Linked DNA regions of Homo sapiens: all the other regions are linked to region 3. The links are contacts of gene promoters, found by promoter capture Hi-C in blood cells and fetal thymus (Javierre and others, 2016). All regions are on one chromosome and are shown on one strand. The core of a region is centred on a gene start or on the middle of the fragment in contact, and the rest is flanking DNA. Distances in the headings are between cores, read along the strand shown. Region 1 overlaps MLLT10 (MLLT10 histone lysine methyltransferase DOT1L cofactor). Region 2 overlaps MLLT10 (MLLT10 histone lysine methyltransferase DOT1L cofactor). Region 3 holds the start of MLLT10 (MLLT10 histone lysine methyltransferase DOT1L cofactor). Region 4 overlaps MLLT10 (MLLT10 histone lysine methyltransferase DOT1L cofactor).

Region 1 (2,852 bases), core at 307-2,806, 140 kb after region 3:
AGTGGCTCATGCTTGTAATCCCAGCACTTTGGGAGGCTGAGGTGGGTGGATCACGAGGTCAGGAGATGGAGACCACGGTGAAACCCTGTCTCTACTAAAAATACAAAAAAGTAGCCCGGCATGGTGGCGGGTGCCTGTAGTCCTAGCTACTCGGAGAGGCTGAGGCAGGAGAATGGCGTGAACCTGAGAGGCAGAGCTCGCAGTGAGCAGAGATCACACCACTGCACTCCAGCCTGGGCGACAGAGCGAGACTCCGTCTCAAAAAAAAAAAATTACTCTGGGGCTGGGCATGGTGACTTACGCCTGTAATCCCAGTACTTTGGGAGGCCGAGGTGGGCAGGTCACCTGAGGTCAAGAGATCTAGACCGTCCTGGCCAACATGGTGAAACCCGGTCTCTACTAAAAATAGAAAAATTAGCTAGACGTGGTGGCACGCACCTGTAGTCCCAGCTACTAGGGAGGCTGAGGCAGGAGAATCGCTTAAACCCGGGAGGCAGAGGTTGCAGTGAGCCGAGATCGGGCCACTGCACTCCAGCCTGGGAGACAGAGCGAGACTCCATCTCAAAAAAAAAAAAAAAAAAAAAAAAAAAAAAAAAAAATTACTCTGAAGATATTTTATGTCTTGTTAAAGCTATAATCATGGAATAAGATTATTGAAAACTCTTTGAGATATATTCTTTAGTTTTATGTATGTTAATAAACATTTTAGGACTTAGTGCAGAACATTTATTGACAATAGTAAAAAGCGTATCCTTATCTAGAAGAGGCTTGGCTTCATGTGCTGCTTTAATCATAGTAAGTTAAGAATTGCTAACTGCTGATGAACACTTAGTATGTGCCACACACTGTGTTAAGCAGTTAATAAGCATTAAGTGTTATTACTCATTATATAGGACAAGAAACTGAGACAGAATTCTCTTAGGTTTTAAGTGATGGAGATATGCATTTTCCCTGGGTCCAGAGCCATTTAATTAGACAGCTCAACAGATGTTTGCTGATGAGGGTCTAACACCACACTAGTGTAATGTCAGTCATACTTTAAGCAAAGAGATCCCTGAACAAATTTGAACCAATAATTTAACTTTCAGCAATAGTGTTTCTTATTGGTATGAAAAGTTAATTTTTCCTTTGGACTAATTTGAAATTGAGAAATCATTTAGTAATTGTGACAACAAGAAGCTTCCCCCCATATAATAAATAAGTAGGAAGGAGAAAATGTATACAGTCATCCTTTGGCATCCATGGGGACTTGGTTCCAGGACCTCCTGCAAATAAATACCCAAGTCCAAGATGCTCAAGTTCCTGTTATAAAACGTCATAGTATTTTCATATAACCTATGCACATCTTCCTGTGTACTTAAATCATTCTTTTCTAGATTTCTTATAATACCTAGTATCATGTAAATGCTATGCAAATAGTTGTTATACTATATTGCTTAGGGAATCATGACAGGAAAAAAAGTCTGTACACATTCAGTACAGACTCAATTTTTTCCTCCAAATATTTTCTATACAAGGGTGTTGAATCCCCAGATGTGGAATCCCACAGACACAGAAGACAACTGTATTATGTATTACATCATCACAAGTTGTTTTTCATGATGCTGTTTTTAAAAGATTGACTTTCTTGAATGACAGGTCGATAATTTAGTAATGTCGAAGATGACCTTTGTAAGCACCTGTTGTTTAAACTATAACATTCACTATAATACTAACTCCTGAGGCTAGGGGCTGTTTCTGACATACACCACTGTATCCCCACTGCCAGCACAGTGCTTTGGACATAGTAAACGTTAAACATTATTTTAAGAAATGAATGAATACCATTAGTTGTCTCGTGAGTGTATGTCATGTGGTTAGAAGTATGCTGTATGATTTTGTACTTCCCCTCTGAGTGTTTATAGCTAAGCTGTAAGACATATTACTTTATTTGTAAAGCTTTTCTTTTCTTTTCTTTTCTTTTTTGAGCTGGAGTCTTGCTCTATTGACCAGGCTAGAGTGTAGTGGCCTGATCTCAGCTCACTGCCACCTCTGCCTCCCGAGTTAAAGCAGTTCCCCTGCCTCAGCCTCCCTAGTAGCTGGGACTACAGGTGCGCGCCACCACACTCAGCTAATTTTTGTATTTTTAATAGAGACAGGGTTTCACCATGTTGGCCAGGACAGTCTCCATCTCTTGACCTCATGATCCACCTGCCTCAGCCTCGCAAAATGCTGGGATTACAGGTGTGAGCCACTGGGCCCAGCTATTTTTAAAGCTTTTCATGTAGTATTTATTTTGCCAGTTTATGATGAAAAGTATTATTAAGTTGGAAAAGATCATGGAGAGGTTGAATTGTACTTTGAAGTAGGCAGAAGACGAAGGCCAATATTACCTGAAAAGAAAGTAAAGGTCTGTTTGAGGGAAAAGCCTAATAAGAACAGGAAGCTTGTATTTGTGGCACTGTGAAGGTGATGTTTATAGGGTAGGATGGGTTCATTGAGAGATTAATGCCAGACTGAAGAAATCAAACTGATAGGCTAATGATCTTTTTCTTAAAATAACTATTCTGGCTAGTTACCATTATGAAAGAATTTCATTAATGGAAAAGAAAAAAAATGCTATCTCATTCAGCTTGGCAATGCTAATATAATCTCTTATTTGAGTACGTTTAAGTTTCTTAGGAACTCTTTAGTTACTCTCTCATTTGATCCTTGGAACAGCCTTGTGAAATAGGACAGCTCCTCTTGATGTTGTTATTTCTCCTTTACAACTAGGATGTAAAGCAGGAGTAGAGTCAGGTTCTAATGTGATTCCCTCTTGAAATTATTGGCTAAAAGCATCAGTTTTAATAGTAATCAAAATTCTCTCATGA
Region 2 (2,862 bases), core at 73-2,572, 200 kb after region 3:
TTCTTACGCTAGGACTTAACCTCCAGTGGACAAAGTACCAGCAGCTCATCAGCTCTTTCTACCCCACCTCCTGCTGGGCAGAGTCCGGCTCAACAAGGCTCAGGAGTGAGTGGAGTTCAGCAGGTCAATGGCGTGACAGTGGGGGCACTAGCTAGTGGAATGCAGCCTGTAACTTCCACCATTCCTGCCGTGTCTGCAGTGGGTGGAATAATTGGAGCTTTGCCAGGTAACCAACTGGCAATTAATGGCATTGTAGGAGCTTTAAATGGGGTTATGCAGACTCCTGTCACAATGTCCCAGAACCCTACCCCTCTCACCCACACAACCGTACCACCTAATGCAACACATCCAATGCCAGCTACACTGACTAACAGGTAAGAAACTTAAGTATGTTTTGGGTTTTTTAGTATAACAGAGTACCGGTGTTGTCTATGCCTTAGATTGGGGCTTTCAATGTGTTCCTTTGTAGATACACCTTAAGAAGTCTGCCAAAAATTTTAAGTATATTATACAGAGTACATTTATTTTTGAAACTTAAGTAATTTAGATTAAAATTAAGTTACTTTTAGTAACAGCATTATGTTCTGTGCTGAAAATTAGTCTTAATCTGTGATGTCTGTTTTTAAATACTAGTTTTTCTTATTTCTTTGTATACTGTATCATAAATTCTGAAGAAAGATATCGTAGTGGAGATAACATGAATATTAGTTTCCTAAAATTTATGTAATATTTTTAATGTTCTAATCAAAGATTTTGATATAGGATAAAGGTCATTTATCTGAATTCCCAGGAAGTGAGACTCACTGGTTTCATTGTACTGGAACTGCATTTGAATGTTTGTTCAAAACTAGGGGACTAAAGCTATGTTGTTATTAAGCATACTTTTGGGGGAATAAATACTTTTAAATGGATTTGCAGTGGGTACTAGAAAGCTATTTCCTGTAGCTCTCTTCCTTGGTGTTTAGTTTTACCATTGGGACCATTAGAAAAGGATAGGTCAAATCAGTGGTATGTTTGGATTCTTTGTTTCAAATATGTGTTTACTTAGTGTGAGTTAAATTATCCTTGAATAATTAAAGATAAATTATTACATACGCTTGTTAGAAACACATGTAAATTTCTATTCCATAAAATGAGTTAGGGCCTATTTGTTTTATAATAAAAACATTTCTTGACAATGTGAATTCTTGTTTAGCTGTACACATGGATGTATATAAACATACATATATATAGAAATTGTACATAACTGTTTTCAGAGTGTTTGGATTCAGAATTGTACTTAAGTTATTAAACATCAAATTGAAAAGTTGTCTTTCATTTTTAGACTTCTAAAAATGCATTAGAGGTGTGTAGTAAAAAGTAAGAATTGTAATCATTTTTCAGTGCCTCAGGACTAGGATTACTTTCTGACCAGCAACGACAAATACTTATTCATCAACAGCAGTTTCAGCAGTTGTTAAATTCTCAACAGCTCACACCAGTAAGTTCTTTCTTTTGATAATATCTTATTAGGAGCATGTGTTCTAAGCTGTAATATTCACTGTGGGTACAGATTTCTCCTTTGTGAAATAACATTATTGAATGCATAATCAAAAAAGTTTTTCTTGCCATGTGGTACAGGCTGTGATACCTGCAGTGATGTCACATTCATTCCTGAACTTAAAAGTGACAGGGCACGTGGCATGGTGCTGCCATAGGCTCTGGTAACACAGTGCTGAGATGTGGTGCGTGTTTTCCCGGAGCTTCATTTTGATACGGGAGATGGATGGACACGATGCACGCTTTTTGGTTGTGATAAATACTGAGAAGAACAAAGAAGTGGAATAAGTGGGGAAGAGCATAGGGAACCGAGGACCATTTTAGATAGGATGGCCCCGCCTCTGCAAGGGGGGTGACTTTTGAGCACAGACCGATGTGAGAGTTCAGGGAGTGTGCCTTTGTGACTTGAGGGAACGCAGAGAGAAAGCACGTTGGAGGTAAAGGGGCAGCTGCTGTCAAAGGTCTGGACGTACTTGTGTTCGGAAGAGAAGTCAGCAGCCATGTGGTCAGAGGGTGGGAGAGGTCAGAGCCAAGGGGGTGGTCTTAGATGATCGCATACAGCCTTTCTTGGCTGTGGCAAGAAATTTGGATTTTATCTTAAGTATGAATGGAAAGCCACTGGCGAGTTTTTAAAAATCTATTACGGAGGATTTCAAGTGTACCAAAAGTAGAGTGGAGAGCACCCTGAAGACCTATGTACGCCTCATTCCATTCTCTCACCCAGTGCTAATAATCTTAGTTTTGTTTATCTCATTTCATTCTCCATTTTTTTCAGGATTAAGAATTGGAAGGTTTTGAACAGAATAGTGAAATAATGATTTACATTTTAAAGGATTAGTTTTGCTGCTATATGGAGAATAGTCTGTGTGTGTTATAGGGTGTGGGGGAGTGAAGACAGAGGCAAAAGTGGAAAAAGGGAGTGATCCAGGCAGGAGACGTAGGTGTTAAAATAGTATGGGCTACGTATTGAAAACTGCCTGGAATTGTGGTATATATATGTATATTTTTGAGAGGGAGTTTTGCTCTGTCGCCCAGGCTGGAGTGCAGTGGCACAATCTGGGCTCCTTGCAACCTCCATCTCCTGGGCTCAAGTGATCCTCCTGCCTCAGCCTCCCGAGTAGCTGGGACTACAGGCATGTCCCACCATGCCTGGCTAATTTTGTATTTTTTGTAGAGACAGGGTTTCACCATGTTGCCCAGGCTGGTCTTGAACTCCTGACCTCAAGTGATCTGCCCTTAGCCTTCCAAAGTGCTGGAATTACAGGTGTGAGCCACTGTGCCCAGCCAAGATGTTTTGAAGACAGAACCAACAAGACTTGTTTG
Region 3 (2,821 bases), core at 315-2,814:
ATGCACTATGTGAATTCTCATTGTTTTAGTGTATATTTTAATTGCCATTACTTTGTATATCTCAGCTTTTAAAACATCTGAATTTGCTATATATGCTCTCATTGTGCTGTATACCTATTATCACTCTTACACAGATTTCTAGCAATTAATTTGAAATAGAAAAACAGCCATGATACCTTTTCTAACCCCCCTTTATCAGAAGAACATTTAGAAGGCTTTTAAAGCCCAAACCATTATATTATCTTTTGGCGACCGACTAGGAGAACTTGGGTTCTCTATGCTTTAGCACTGTGAAAGTGCATCTTCCAGATCAGCACATTTATAATGCGAATTGCTGATAAAGAACCATTTTGTACCTGCAAGGTATTAATCAAAAGTCATGAATTCGCCTTTTAACTGGGCTTGTCATTTAAACAATCTATGCATAATTCTGATTTCATGCGAAACTTTTCTAATTAGACATTTTTTGCTTAAACATCAATATTGGGCTTTACGGATGCATAAGGAATAGGCAGACAGTGGAAGATTTTAGTTTAAAAGTGCTCAGCATCCAGCTAATTAATCTATGCAGATAGGCCTAATCCATTTTCCATTTGTTTGTGAGGTGGGAGCTCTCATCTTTCTGCCACTTTTAAATGACCTCACATTTCCAAGTATAAATTTGGAGAAAAGACCCGGATCAGAGGAATCCTCCATCAAAACTGGACGCCACTGTCTGATGGCGTTAATTATGTTTTAGCGACTGACTAGGAGGGCTAGAGTTCCTTCTTCCTTTTGGTGTAATACAACTGCATTTTCCGGATCATCGTATTATATTGCTAATTCCGGATAAACCACCATTTGTCCTGCACACCGAGCTGAGGGGCGCCTTGGCGTTCCCTCTCCGAGTGCAGCCCTAACACAGGCTTTTGACCTTCAGCCTGGAATACACTTTCGTTTGTCATTGGGGCCCACGTAGTGCGAAAATGGGCGGCAGATTTGGTAGGACTTCCAGCGGGTGAACTTTGGGAAGAGTCCAGGACGTGAATTTAATGGGTGGAGTGGCTGCGGCAGCACTGTGAAGTTAGCGCGGCCAACTGCAGGAAGCCATGCTTCATTACACCCTTCATGGAAGCTGGCACACTCGCCCCACCCTCGTTTTCCACGGGCCAGTCTTGGAGGAAAAGGCCAGCAGGTAGGTTCCCAGGGCACGGAGATGATGCCCCCGGGGACTCCCCTCTGGCGATTCTGAGAAAACCCCTTCCCAGCCCTGGGCGTCCACCTCCCCCGCCACCTCCCAGGCCTCTTCCCGACGCTCACACGCGGCCCGCGCCACCAGCGCTGCAGAGGGCGGCCCTAACGTCCCCGCCCCCGCGTGCGCGCCCCCGCGCCCGTTCATTCCGGCCTCCGCGCGCCGCCGGCTCCCCTCGCGCCCACCCCCAGCACACCTCGGCGGCGGCGAGCGGCGCGGGGGAGGGGGACGGGGCCCCGGAGGTAGGCCGGGGGCAGCCAACAGGCCGCGGCAGCGCGCACGCAGGGCTAGCCTCGCCCAGGCCTCCTCCCTCACGCCGGCCGCAGGACGGGCGCGCACGCCAAGTGACGCTCCGAGGAGGAAGCGCAGCCCCCTTCCCCTCCCTCGCTGCCCCTGGCCCAGCGGGAGCCCCCCCTCCCCCCAGTGCGCCTGTGCGGAGGCCCTCTTGATTATGTGTGCCCTCTCCGGGCGCCCGCGTTAGCGGCCGGGTGGAGGTGGGGAGGGAAGACGCTGAGGAGGAGGAGGAGGCGGAGGAGGCGGTGGAGGGGAGGTGGGGGGAATCAGCAAGGACATGGCTCCTGACTCCTGTGCGGAACGTGAGTGACTGAGCGGCAAAGCCCGAGTGAGCGAGCGGTGGGCTGCCGGGCCGGGCGGGGGGCGCCGGGGCGGGCTCGGGGGGCTGTGTGGGGGGGAAGCACTAATCGGCTTGCATGTGTTTTTTAATGGTCCCCCCAACTCCCTCTTAGATGGTCTCTAGCGACCGGCCCGTGTCACTGGAGGACGAGGTCTCCCATAGTATGAAGGAGATGATTGGAGGCTGTTGCGTTTGCTCAGACGAGAGAGGCTGGGCCGAGAACCCGCTGGTTTATTGCGACGGGCACGGCTGCAGCGTCGCGGTGCATCAAGGTAAACACCCAACCGCCCGCCGGGGCGCGCCGGCCTGCGCCCAACGGTCACCGCCGCCCCCACCTGGGCCGCAACCGCCGGCGCCCCCGCCCCGTGCCGCGGCCGCGGGAGGGACGCGGAGGGTCCGCGGCGGGGCGCGGGGGGTGTGGGCCGCGCATGTGGGAGAAAGTGCGTGTGGCCCGGACTGTCATGTGATTCCGCTCTCACTCTCTCAAGTGTCATTCGGCCGCCGCCTGCGCCTGGGGCCGGGGTCTGCTGACTCGGCGGGGCGGGGCGGGGCAGGGCGGCGGCCGCGCCCTCGAGATCTGGGCCGGGGTGGGGGCGGGGGCGGGGGCGGGGGCGGTGCGCGCCCTTCCCGGGGTTCCCGGGGCCACGGGGGTGGGTTTGGGAGAGTGGAGCGCCCTCTTCTCCCCTGGCCTGCAGCCGCCTGTCTGCCGCAGTGTTTGGAGACTTCCTGTGGCGTGGAGACGGGCTCGGGAACGCGGCGCCAGTGTGGGGAGGCTGGGGGTCGCCTTGCCTCTTTAGATGGGGAGGGATGCGGGGCCCGTTGCACCCCGAGCCAGAAGGCTCGGGCCCTGCCGCCGCCGCCCGGTAGCTGTCTGCGGAGGAGATGGCGGAGTCCGTTGCTGACCATGCGGGAGTGGCGGGGCTGCTGCAGCGCCTGTGGGGTGGCCGCGGCAGGCC
Region 4 (2,700 bases), core at 174-2,673, 180 kb after region 3:
TGCCTGTAATCCCAGCTACTCGGGAGGCTGAGGCAGGAGAATTGCTTGAACCTGGGAGGCAGAGGTTGCGGTGAGCCAAGATCACGCCATTGCGCTCCAGCCTGGGCAACAAGAGCGAAACTCCGTCTCAAAAAAAAAAAAAAAAAAAAAAAATTGTTCCCTGGAAAGTGGTCAAGGAGATAAGATTGGGAAGGGCTAGTAGAAGTTAAAAACTTAGAATAACTTGAAACTTGATTTGTGCTGGGAAAAGGAGATACTTGTAAAATTGGCGGGTGGGGGGTGGGGAGGGGAGTCTGATAGCAGCATACATTTTGGGGAAAAAACCTTTAAAAAACTGTTTGATTTTATATTCTTATATTCCTCCTCCTCCTCCTCCTCCTCCTCCTCCTCCACCACCTCCTCCTCCTCCTCCTCCTCCCTTCTTCTTTCTTCTTCTTTCTTCCTCTTCCTCTTCTTTCTTCCTCTTCCTCTTCTTTCTTCCTCTTCTTCCTCCTCTTCCTCCTCCTCCTCCTCCTTTTCCTCCTCCTCTTCCTCCTCCTCTTCCTCCTCCTCTTCCTCCTCCTCCTCCTCCTCCTCTTCCTCCTCCTCCTCTTCCTCCTCCTCCTCCTCCTCTTCCTCCTCCTCTTCCTCCTCCTCCTCCTCCGCTGCTGCTGCTGCTTCTTCTTCTTCTTCTTCTCCTTCTTCTTCTCCTTCTTCTCCTCCTTCTCCTCCTCCTTCTCCTCCTCCTTCTCCTCCTCCTTCTCCTCCTCCTTCTCCTCCTCCTTCTCCTCCTCCTCCTCCTCCTCCTTCTCCTTCTCCTTCTTCTTCTCCTTCTTTTCTTCTTTCTTCTTCTTTCTTCTTCTTTCTTCTTTTTGAGACTACAGGTGCCCGCCACCACGCCTGGCTAATTTTTGTATTTTTGATAGAGATGGAGTTTCACCATGTTGGTCAGGCTGGTCTCGAACTCCAGACTTCAGGTGATCTGCCCACCTTGGCCTCCCAAAGTGCTGGGATTACAGGTGTGGGCCACTGCGCCCGGCCTCTATTTTATATTCTTAAGTGTTAAACCCTTTTTTTTTTCCCCCTTTCAACAGACTAGTTTTTAGAGTAATGGCTCTTTCACAAATAATTGATAGGAAGCCTGCTTTACTACATACTAGTATATTAGTAATAGAGTAGTTTCTTAACATTGCGGGAAGAGCGGACTCCTGTCCATGTGACTGTTAATCATGGATCAGGGTAGAGGTATAAATTAGTTTCTGTAGGAGTGTCATTAATTTTTCATTTTGCCTTTCAAATCCTGCTGTTTCCTAGTTCTGCAGTCATTCTGTACTGTCTTTGGGAGAATGCAGGTGCTTTTTTTTTGGTTTGAAGGATGATTTCTTTAGTAGAAGAACTTAAGACTGAATGCAATGAAACATAATTGCATTCCGTTACATCCTACTTTCTGAGTTTTGCGTTTGAAATACAATCTTCATGTGATAATCATGGCTTCTTGTCTATCCCATGTTACTGTTAAACAAAATGATGTAGACTTAACATTTAAAGTAAAATAAACTTCCAAGGTTTATTTATGTGATATTTAGGAAATGCAGATATTTCGTGTTTTTGTTGTTGTTTGTTTGTTTGTTTTTTTGAGACGGAGTCTCACTCTGTTGCCGAGGCTAGAGTGCAATGGCACGATCTCGGCTCACTGCAAACTCTGCCCCTGCCAGGTTCAAGTGATTCTCCTGCCTCAGCCTCCTGAGTACCTGGGACTACACACGTGCACCACCACGCCTGGCTAATTTTTGTGTTTTTGGTAGAGATGGGGTTTCACCATGTTGGCCAGGCTGGTCTCGAACTCCTGACCTCATGATCCACCCACCTTGGCCTCCCAAAGTGCTGGGATTGCAGGCGTGAGCCACCTCGCCTGGGCATATTTCTGTATTTTAAACATACAATTTAGTGACTAGAGTTTTGCAGATTTCTGTGACACTTTCATCTCAATTAGCTTCGAATATTTTGTTTTCCAATATGATTATGTATGTGTGTGTTTATGTAGGGGAAGTTGTCTAAGATGTAGTCTCCGATTTCTTTTCAGATGATGTCTAATAAGGACACTTTAATTCTGCTTGAGAAAATGGTTTCGTTTCTCAGGCAGATTTAACTGACTTCTGGGGTGATATTTATGTTTATACTTAATTAGTCAGAATGTAAATTTCTTCTGATTTCAATAATATAATGACTTATAATTTTAAGGGAATTACCTTTCTGAGGAAAATCAGTTTTCATAACCTTGGTAACATCTCTTGTTACCAGATGATGAAAAGGTTCAGTCACAGTCACATATCTGTAAGTCTGGAATTAAGACATGATTCCTTAGCCTGCTCTCTTATTACTAATTGTTACTGTTAAAATGAATTTCCCAATTATGTACTTCTTATGCTAAGAGGTATCTCCTTGGAAAACGTTGTTAGTAATTTTACTGTGTTCATTTGTGTGATGCAATGCAGAAGAGAGAAATTTGAGTCAGCAAAAGTCCTGGGTTCCAGGAGTTTTGCTACTCACTTGTATAACCTTGGGCAGGTCTTTTAATTTTTGTGAGCCTCAATGTTTCCATATGTAAAATGGGAATACTTTAAGTACCTGTTCTACCTGCTATACAGATACTTTATGAGGTTCAAATGCAGACCATAAAATACTTTAGAATTCATGGTTATTGACTTCAACTGTTACTCT

What was found. Contacts are between HindIII fragments. The CHiCAGO score rates a contact against its expected background, and 5 or more counts as called.
Region 1: a fragment that was not itself captured here is called in contact with the fragment with the promoter of MLLT10 in region 3 in 1 of 17 cell types (megakaryocytes); the score reaches 5.9 in megakaryocytes.
Region 2: a fragment that was not itself captured here is called in contact with the fragment with the promoter of MLLT10 in region 3 in 4 of 17 cell types (megakaryocytes, fetal thymus, endothelial precursors and 1 more); the score reaches 9.3 in megakaryocytes.
Region 4: a fragment that was not itself captured here is called in contact with the fragment with the promoter of MLLT10 in region 3 in 2 of 17 cell types (megakaryocytes and erythroblasts); the score reaches 5.4 in megakaryocytes.

What each region holds. Positions count from the first base shown.
Region 1 is chr10:21,676,158-21,679,009 of GRCh38, forward strand. All of the region lies in intron 11 of MLLT10 (MLLT10 histone lysine methyltransferase DOT1L cofactor), which reads left to right. Among named protein-coding and RNA genes, the nearest start is that of MLLT10, 140 kb to the left of the region's middle. The HindIII fragment of the contact is 759 bases long and covers 1,178-1,936 here.
Region 2 is chr10:21,733,756-21,736,617 of GRCh38, forward strand. It overlaps MLLT10 (MLLT10 histone lysine methyltransferase DOT1L cofactor), which reads left to right. Exons shown (of 23, transcript NM_001195626.3): 20 at 13-374; 21 at 1,384-1,480. The region is part of intron 1 of LOC107984214 (a long non-coding RNA gene); the gene reads right to left. Among named protein-coding and RNA genes, the nearest start is that of MLLT10, 200 kb to the left of the region's middle. The HindIII fragment of the contact is 3,312 bases long and covers 1-2,862 here.
Region 3 is chr10:21,532,668-21,535,488 of GRCh38, forward strand. It overlaps MLLT10 (MLLT10 histone lysine methyltransferase DOT1L cofactor), which reads left to right and starts at 1,565. Exons shown (of 23, transcript NM_001195626.3): 1 at 1,565-1,853; 2 at 1,978-2,137. The coding sequence starts at 1,978. RefSeq lists enhancers at 1,134-1,847, 2,563-2,821 and silencers at 1,213-1,742, 1,753-1,822, 1,933-2,272, 2,413-2,502. The HindIII fragment of the contact is 10,036 bases long and covers 1-2,821 here.
Region 4 is chr10:21,717,125-21,719,824 of GRCh38, forward strand. All of the region lies in intron 14 of MLLT10 (MLLT10 histone lysine methyltransferase DOT1L cofactor), which reads left to right. Among named protein-coding and RNA genes, the nearest start is that of MLLT10, 180 kb to the left of the region's middle. The HindIII fragment of the contact is 5,162 bases long and covers 1-2,700 here.